Linked DNA regions of Homo sapiens: region 2 is linked to region 1. The links are contacts of gene promoters, found by promoter capture Hi-C in human tissues and cell types (Jung and others, 2019). All regions are on one chromosome and are shown on one strand. The core of a region is centred on a gene start or on the middle of the fragment in contact, and the rest is flanking DNA. Distances in the headings are between cores, read along the strand shown. Region 1 holds the start of SLC7A2 (solute carrier family 7 member 2). Region 2 holds the start of LOC124901892 (endogenous retrovirus group K member 25 Env polyprotein-like).

Region 1 (3,710 bases), core at 452-2,951:
CACTGCTTAGGAGGCCAAGGATTCTGCAAACTGATCCCCGCAGATACCACAGCGCTTTACTCTGGTCTCCAAGGCCATGGCACACCCTAAAAGATTAAAATGCCTTAAGGTAAATGACCATTCCCAGATGAAGGCACAGAATGTAAACAAAGTGTGGGCCGAGGGAAGAAACTTGAAAAATCACAATAAAGTGGCCTCCCAGAGCAGGCAACTAGCAACTTTGTAGGAAAAGGAGAGGGAAGAAGTCCTGTGTTCTGCACTGAGAGATCATTTCATGTCACGCTTCAGTGCAATTAAAATAAAAAAGGATTTACTAATTACAAAGCAATCCTAACAAGGTACATAATACAGAATATTCACATCTTATACATCTCCTAGAGAAAGATTACAAACACAGAATGTTTCACCTTCCGGAGGAGATAATTATTAACTTTTAAAGACTAGCTCAGGCAAGAATGAAAAAGTATCAAGTCAAGGCCACATACATTCTAATTTTATAACCCAGGCGGCCCTGGATGGGATTCAGAGAGCTCTTATTTGAATAAGATCTGACGATATCCTCTCATTAAAAGGATTAGTGTTTCTGCACAAACGTCTAGATAAATCTTATTACTGGTCCAAAATTAGTCACCTAAAGGCTTTAGCCAGTTTTGCACAAATATTTACAACTCTGAAGAGGCTGAGTACTTTTTCTCTTGAAATCCAGGCACTATATCCACTTCAAAAGCCACATATGATTGTGGCTTTTGCTGAGCATATTTCTTTTCGACGAGTTGAAGATGACAATCTCTCAATACCTTACTCCATAGACTGGATGTAAGCGTCAAAAGAGGATGAAAAGGTACTTTCTGAACGGACAGGTACTCTGGGGTGATGGGTTGGGAGATTCTCTAAGCCTCAAGAACAGCGTTTCATGAAACGGGCTTATAAAATACAGCCCATCTCAAACGGATTTTAAAAGGCACCCAGTTACTTTAAAATACCCAATACAAACACCAAGACGGGCTATTTTACCAGGTCCCCTGCAGAATGTGAAGGGGCTTCCAGCGCTCCAAGCCGGCTTTCTAATTTAAGCCAAGAACCGAAAAGGAGCGAAGGCGGCTTCGGGGACCCCGGCAGCGTGCAGGGCCAGGAGGTTCAGCCTGCCCACCCGGAGAGGGGTGCGCCGAGCTCCTCTGGAAATAGTGACTGAAGGGTCCCCGCGAAGTCGCCGTGCCAGCCCCTCTCCCAGTTCCAGCGGTCCCCGAAGTCCCCGGGCAGAGCCGGCTGCACAGGGACCGGACGAGGCGAGGCGCATTCCGGGGCGCAGCCCCGAGGACGAAGGTCCACGGCTTCAGCCCCAGCCCACGGCCCCGACTCCCTGACGAAGACTCGCTGGAGCGCGGCCTCAGGGCAGCTGCGCGCAGCTGGACTCGTCCCCGGGAGCCCTCGACCCTCTAGTTCCCCGCCGGCCCCAGGGCGCCCTCGCCCCGCTCCTTCCCCGCCGGCCCCAGCGTCCGGGCTGCCCCTCGCCCGCGGCCTCTCGGCGGGGCTGGAGACCTAGCAACTTACTGGGGCTGGGTTGGGGTCGCGCCAAGAAGGCGGCGGTGGGCTGCCGGCTGCAGCGCGTCGGGGGCCCGCGGCTGGGGGACGCTGGAGCAGCGGCCGCCGCCTCGCTGGTCCCGCGAAGAGGAGCGCCCGCCGGCCGCGCTGCAGAAGGAGGGCTGGGCACGTGGGCGCCCCTCTGTGTAGCCACCCGGGGCGGGGGCGGGGCGCGGGGCCGGGCGGCACCGCCTCCTCCGCGCTCCCGGAACGCGACCCCGAGCCCGCCTCCCGCCGGGCCCCGGCCGCGCTGACCAATCCCCGGGGTGGGCGGTGTGCGGCCGCTGCTCAGCGGGGTTTGCCTGGAGCCGAGCACACGTGGGCGGGCGCTAGCCCCGGGCTAGGCCGGTGGGCGCGGGCCGGGGAAGAGAGGCTGCGCGCGAGGATAAACTTCGTGCTCTCCTGGGAGGACCAAACCTCAAGGGCATTTCCGAATCTTCTAAGCAGAGTTCTAAGTGGGGTTTTGGTCCCCCCGTTTACTTTCCATTCTACAAAGATTTTGGAAATAAGAAAATAATAATAAAATATAATAATAGCAATGATAAATGGAAGCCCAGGTGGATGTGCTTTGTCAAATGCAAACTAAACGTTGATAAATAATGTGCAGTTGCTATTTTGGAAGACTCCAGTGGTATGAATACGTAGTCACGATTGTTTGGGGGTGGGTTTATAGGAAATGACATTATTTCCAGGGGAGCAAGAGCAGAAGTTACACAATCAGGGTTTCTCCTACTGCGCTATTGTTTACTTTAGGAGTCTCTGATAAGATTAAGTCACAATGTGAAAGCCTGTTAATTTTCATCCAAAACGAAGCAAAACACGCACTGAATTGAACAATAAGTGTGTGTCAGTGTGTGTGTGTATATGTGTGTGTGGTTTGTCTTTAGAGACAGGGTCTCACTCTGTCGCCCAGGCTGGAGGGCAGTGACACAATCGTGGCTCACTGCAGCCTCGACCTCCTGGGCTCAAGCTATCCTCCCGCCTCAGCCTCCCAAAGTGCTGACAACTACAGGCTTGAGCCACCAGGCTGAGAATTACAGGCTTGAGCCACCATGCCCGGCCTATTACTATTTTTGTTTGACAGAAAGGTCCACTTTACTTTGCATAGTATTGGAGTAAACGTCCCTTTAACCCACCTACTAGTAATAACTTTGGCAAAGTGCCAGATTTGTATTGCTGCCTCACAGTACATATACAATTTTAATGTGATATTCTAAATCATTCTTCCCTTCAAGACATATATCCCCAAGATCATCTAATAAACGGTGTGGGGCTTCATTCCAGAAGATAGCACACACACAAAATCTCAATGTATCTCAGGAAGCCATCCATGGATTTCATCAAAAAGTGAAAGTGTAGGCTGGGGGTGGTGGCTCACGCCTGTAATCCCAGCACTTTGGGACGCCGAGGCGCGCCGATCACCTGAGGTCAGGAGTTCGAGACCAGTCTGGCCAACAGGGTGAAACTCCGTCTCTACTAAAAATACAAAAATTAGCCGGGCGCGGCGGCGGGCGCCTGTAACCCCAGCTACTCGGGAGGTTGAGGCAGGAGAATCGCTTGAGCCCAGGAGGCGGAGGTTGCAGTGAGCCGAGATAGTGCCACTACAGTCCAGCCTGGGCGACAGAGTGAGATTCCGTCTCAAAAACAAAAGCAAACGAACAAAAAAACTGAAAGTTTAAACAGCACTATGATTACGAAGATATTATCTGATAGACCAAATGTCTTAAGTAATAGAGACTGTCAAAGTAAACTTATTTTTACAGTCAAAAAAAGATTCCTTATGCAAATTATCATTAATAACATTAAGGGAAATGATGCGTGTGGACTTTTAACACCAGATTCCTCCTCAATCCCACGGCTAGGAGGCGTTGTTCAAGGGAGCGATGACTCAGATACTTTGTCTAATTTTTAAGGGTGAGTAATCTGGTCTAACATTTTTCACCTGGTTTAAAAAAAATAGAGATTCCTGGGAGTCGCGGTGGCTCAGGGCGGTTGCCCTGGCACTCGAGGAGGCGAGGCTACACGTTCGAGGCCAACCTGGTCAACATTGATTAAAATAAAGAAAGAAAAAATAAAAAAATAGAGATTCCTATTTTTAAACTTAAGCAATTATTTCCCCACATATTTTT
Region 2 (3,871 bases), core at 108-2,607, 420 kb before region 1:
CTGGGTCAAATAAGTTTTTATTCACAGAAATAAAGAGATCTGCAGGTGACAACTAGATTTGTAATATGCATCCATACGGACTAGCAGAGGAGTATGTGGCATGATTGGGGTTACAATGATTCATGTTAAATTCACGGCATTATGTAGGAAAGCTACAGCTGTATATATTATAATTTTTTTTTTTTTTGAGACAGAGTCTCGCTCTGTCGCCCACGCTGGAGTGCAGTGGCACGATTTCAGCTCACTACAACCTGCGCCTCCCGGGTTCAAGCCATTCTCCTGCCTCAGCCTCCCAAGTAGCTGGGACTACAGGCACCCGCCACCACGCTTGGCTAATTTTTTGTATTTTTAGCAGAGATGGAGTTTCAACGTGTTAGCCAGGGTGGTCTCGATCTCCTGACCTTGTGATCCACCCACCTTGGCCTTATAATTTTTTATTTTACCGTAAAAAGGCTTCCACATTGCATTTCTCCTTCCATGAGAAAGATCCCAAAGTCAGGGGAGAACTAGCAAAACACACGTGAATTCAGATTAACCAGGTAAGAGAAAATGCCCTCTCCTTACCAGAAGAACTAAATAATTTCCAGGGCTAAAAACCAAGGACGTTGGATGGCAGGCCGGTCTATCCAAGACTCTCCCCAATCTAGATAAGGAAACAAGTAAAACTCTGATAGCGGGTGAAACACACTGGTATAGAGGAGAGGTTTGTGGGTCAAAACAGGGGCTTGGATGTGGGCCGAGGTAGTCGAGGGCCAGCGTACAGTGTGCCTGTTTAAGGATTAACAATATATGCTTTAGAATAGTGCTTTATTAATATAGTCATGAATCATAAGAATAGCTTGTGCTTAGTCCAACAATATAAGAATCAGGCGGTGAGCTTGCTTGACTGACCACAGAGTGGAACAAACAACCGCAGGAAGTGTGCGGAGCCTCTAAGCAAGAAAGCTTGCTTATTGCTCAACCTCCCACTTGAGTCCCTGAACAAAGGTCTCGTGGGAAGGGAAGCGACCCCTGCTCCATTCCCCAGAAGGGAACAGCAGGAGGCTGCTTGTAAAAGAGGAGAAGTCCTCTGCGGTAGAGATGAGGAGGAAGTCTTCTATCTCTCGCTCGTTCCCAGAGGCGGAGAGCTCTGCTGCTCTGCTGATGGTGCTTGGAGTGGACCACTCCTTTGATGCACAGGCCTGTGGTCTGACGGGCTATCTGCTTTCACATCCTGTTCTGTTAAGCCCCTCTGCCACCTCTCCCCATGGTCACTCTATGATCACCCAACCATCTGCCCACCCTCAGCCCATAGGATCAAAGGAATTGTACTCAATAAACATCAGTGGAATCCAGAGCTCAAGGCCTTCGCAGTTTCCGTGTTGTGATGGAACCCTGGACCCACTTTTGTTAACTCTTGAACTTTGTGTCTTTATTTCTTTTCTCATTCCTTCATTTCCACCGGGAAGGGGAGAACACGCATGTGGTGTAGCGGGCTGGTTCCCCTACATCTTTGGCACCCAGTGTGGGCTCCTTGTACCCAGGTGGAGTTACACCTGAGCATGGTCATTGCGGAGACCAGTCTGTCGAGGGACTCCCAAGAACGTGTGGTCGGCCTTGCGGTAAGCTTGTGTGCTCGGAGTATTCCAGGGACACCATGGGACAATCGGGAAGTAAGCACTCTGCTTACTTACACTTTATCAAACTCCTCTTAAAGAGGGGGGTAATAAAGGCTAGCACAGAAAACTTGATTACTCTGTTTCAAACAGTAGAGCAGTATTGCCCTTGGTTTCCTGAATAAGGTACCATGGATTTAAAAGATTGGGAGCAGGTTGGAATTGCCTTAAAACAAGTTCATAAGGAAGGAAAACTTATTCTTCTAACGGTCTGGTCAGACTGGGCTATGGTTAAAGCAGCCTTGGAACCGTTTCAAATGGAAAACGAGGTTTATCCTCCGGCAGAAAGAATTCCAGCGGAGGAAGGCGGTGCTGCCGCCAATATAAATATAAAGGAAGTTGAAGGAGGAGAGGATAGTGAAGAAGATTTTGAGGAAAGTACAGACAAACCTGGAGATGACTTAATTTCTTTTGAGGAGCATGTGGGACCTCCAGCTGCTCCTAAAATAGAGAAGCTATTTATGCCAATATGTTTAAAACAAAGAAGGGCCTTGAGGAATCTTTGGCTCCTCATTGGGATCATCCGGAGTGGCCACCTCCAATAAGGCAACGTAACCTGGAGCCTTGGAGGTTTGAATCTCCAATTTGCCCTGTTTCACGAATGGATAAATTAGGGGCTCAGGAATCAAGAACACGTTTTGCAGCACCAGTACAGCATAGGGCTGCACTGCCACCTAATGTCAATGAATCACCATTTCAAATGGTTATTCGGCAGGCTAGGTTAGCTGGAGATCCCGATGCCTGGCAGTTTCCAGTAGTTTTGGAACTCCCACAGCAGCAGGGTGGTGCCCATCAGGCGGTATGGGAACCATTTTCTTTTAAGCTGCTTAAAGATCTCAAAGCAGCTGTTGGTCAGTAAGGTCCCAATTCGCCTTCTGTCCAGTCACTATTACACTCAGTAACTCAGGACAAGCGATTGGCCCCGGACGATTGGGAGATTTTAGCAAAAGCTACTCTTTCGCCCTCCCAATTTCTTCAATTTAAAAGTTGGTGGACCGATGAGGCTCAAAATCAAGATCAAAAAAACCGTGCTGCTAATCCTGTTGTTGCCATTTCACTTGAACAACTGTTGGGAGTTGGGGGCCAATGAGGAACTGTACAACAATTAGTGCTTCAGGATGATGCCGTTGAGCAAATTCGCAATTGTTGCTTGAGGGCATGGGAAAAAATTCAGGACCCGGGAACTACTTATCCCTCTTTTAATTCTGTCAGACAAGGCTCAAAAGAACCGTATCCTGATTTTATTGCTCCTCTTCAAGATGCAGCTCAGAAGGCTCTCACTGATGAAAGTGCCAGGAAGGTGATTATAGAATTCTTGGCTTATGAAAATGCCAACCCTGACTGTCAATCACCTATTCGCTCTGTGAAAGGAAAGGTTCTGGTGGGAGTTGATGTAATCAATGAGTATATCAGGGCATGTGATAGATTGGTGGAATCATGCATAAGGCTATGATAATGGCTCAAAACATGGCAGGATCAAAGGTGGGAGATCCAGTGAAAAACTTTTCAGGCAATTGTTATAACTGTGGGCAATTTGGAAATACAAAAAAGGAATATAAGAACAAATCAAACAAACAATCCAGATCTAATCAAACAAAGGAGCCACCTGGCTTATGTCCCAGGTGCCAGAAGGGTAAATGTTGGGCTAAACGGTGTCACTCCAAATTTGATGAAAATGGCCAACCCTTGCAGGCGCAATTGGGAAATGGGAAGAGGGGCCAGCCTCAGGCCCCACTCCAAACTGGGGCATTCCCTCTCCAGCAGTTTGTCCGTCAGTGGGCACCAGTGCCCTTAATCCCTCAAGTGACCACCACAGTAACATAATTGGCGCCAGTTACAACAGGGGGCGCTGCTTTAGATTTATGTTGCACCAGAGCTGTGTCTCTGCTTCCAGGGGAACCACCTCAAAAGGTGCCCTCTGGAGTATTTGGCCCTTTACCTGAGGTAACAGTTGGACTTGTTTTAGGGAGATTTAGTCTAAATTTAAAAGGAGTTCAAATTTATACTGGAGTGATAGATTCCGATTTTGTGGGAGAAATTCAATTGGTTATTAGTTCTAGTATTCCTTGGAGTGCAAGCCAGGCAGAGAGAATTGCTCAATTGTTGTTATTACCTTATTACCTAATTGTTGTTATTACCTAAGTAGGAGAAAGTACAGTAAAAAGAGAAGGTGGTTTCGGCAGCACTGATAGCAAAGGAAAAGCAACTTATTGGGT

The links. Contacts are between HindIII fragments. The study calls those that stand out against the background at their distance.
Region 2: a contact is called between a fragment that was not itself captured here and the fragment with the promoter of SLC7A2 in region 1, in 2 of the 25 tissues and cell types used here (aorta and heart left ventricle).

The regions. Positions count from the first base shown.
Region 1 is chr8:17,495,079-17,498,788 of GRCh38, reverse strand. SLC7A2 (solute carrier family 7 member 2) reads right to left here and starts at 1,701. Exons shown (of 13, transcript NM_001370338.1): 1 at 1,552-1,701. The HindIII fragment of the contact is 11,749 bases long and covers 1-3,710 here.
Region 2 is chr8:17,913,460-17,917,330 of GRCh38, reverse strand. It overlaps LOC124901892 (endogenous retrovirus group K member 25 Env polyprotein-like), which reads left to right and starts at 1,344. Exons shown (of 1, transcript XM_047422511.1): 1 at 1,344-3,871. The HindIII fragment of the contact is 3,187 bases long and covers 1-2,950 here.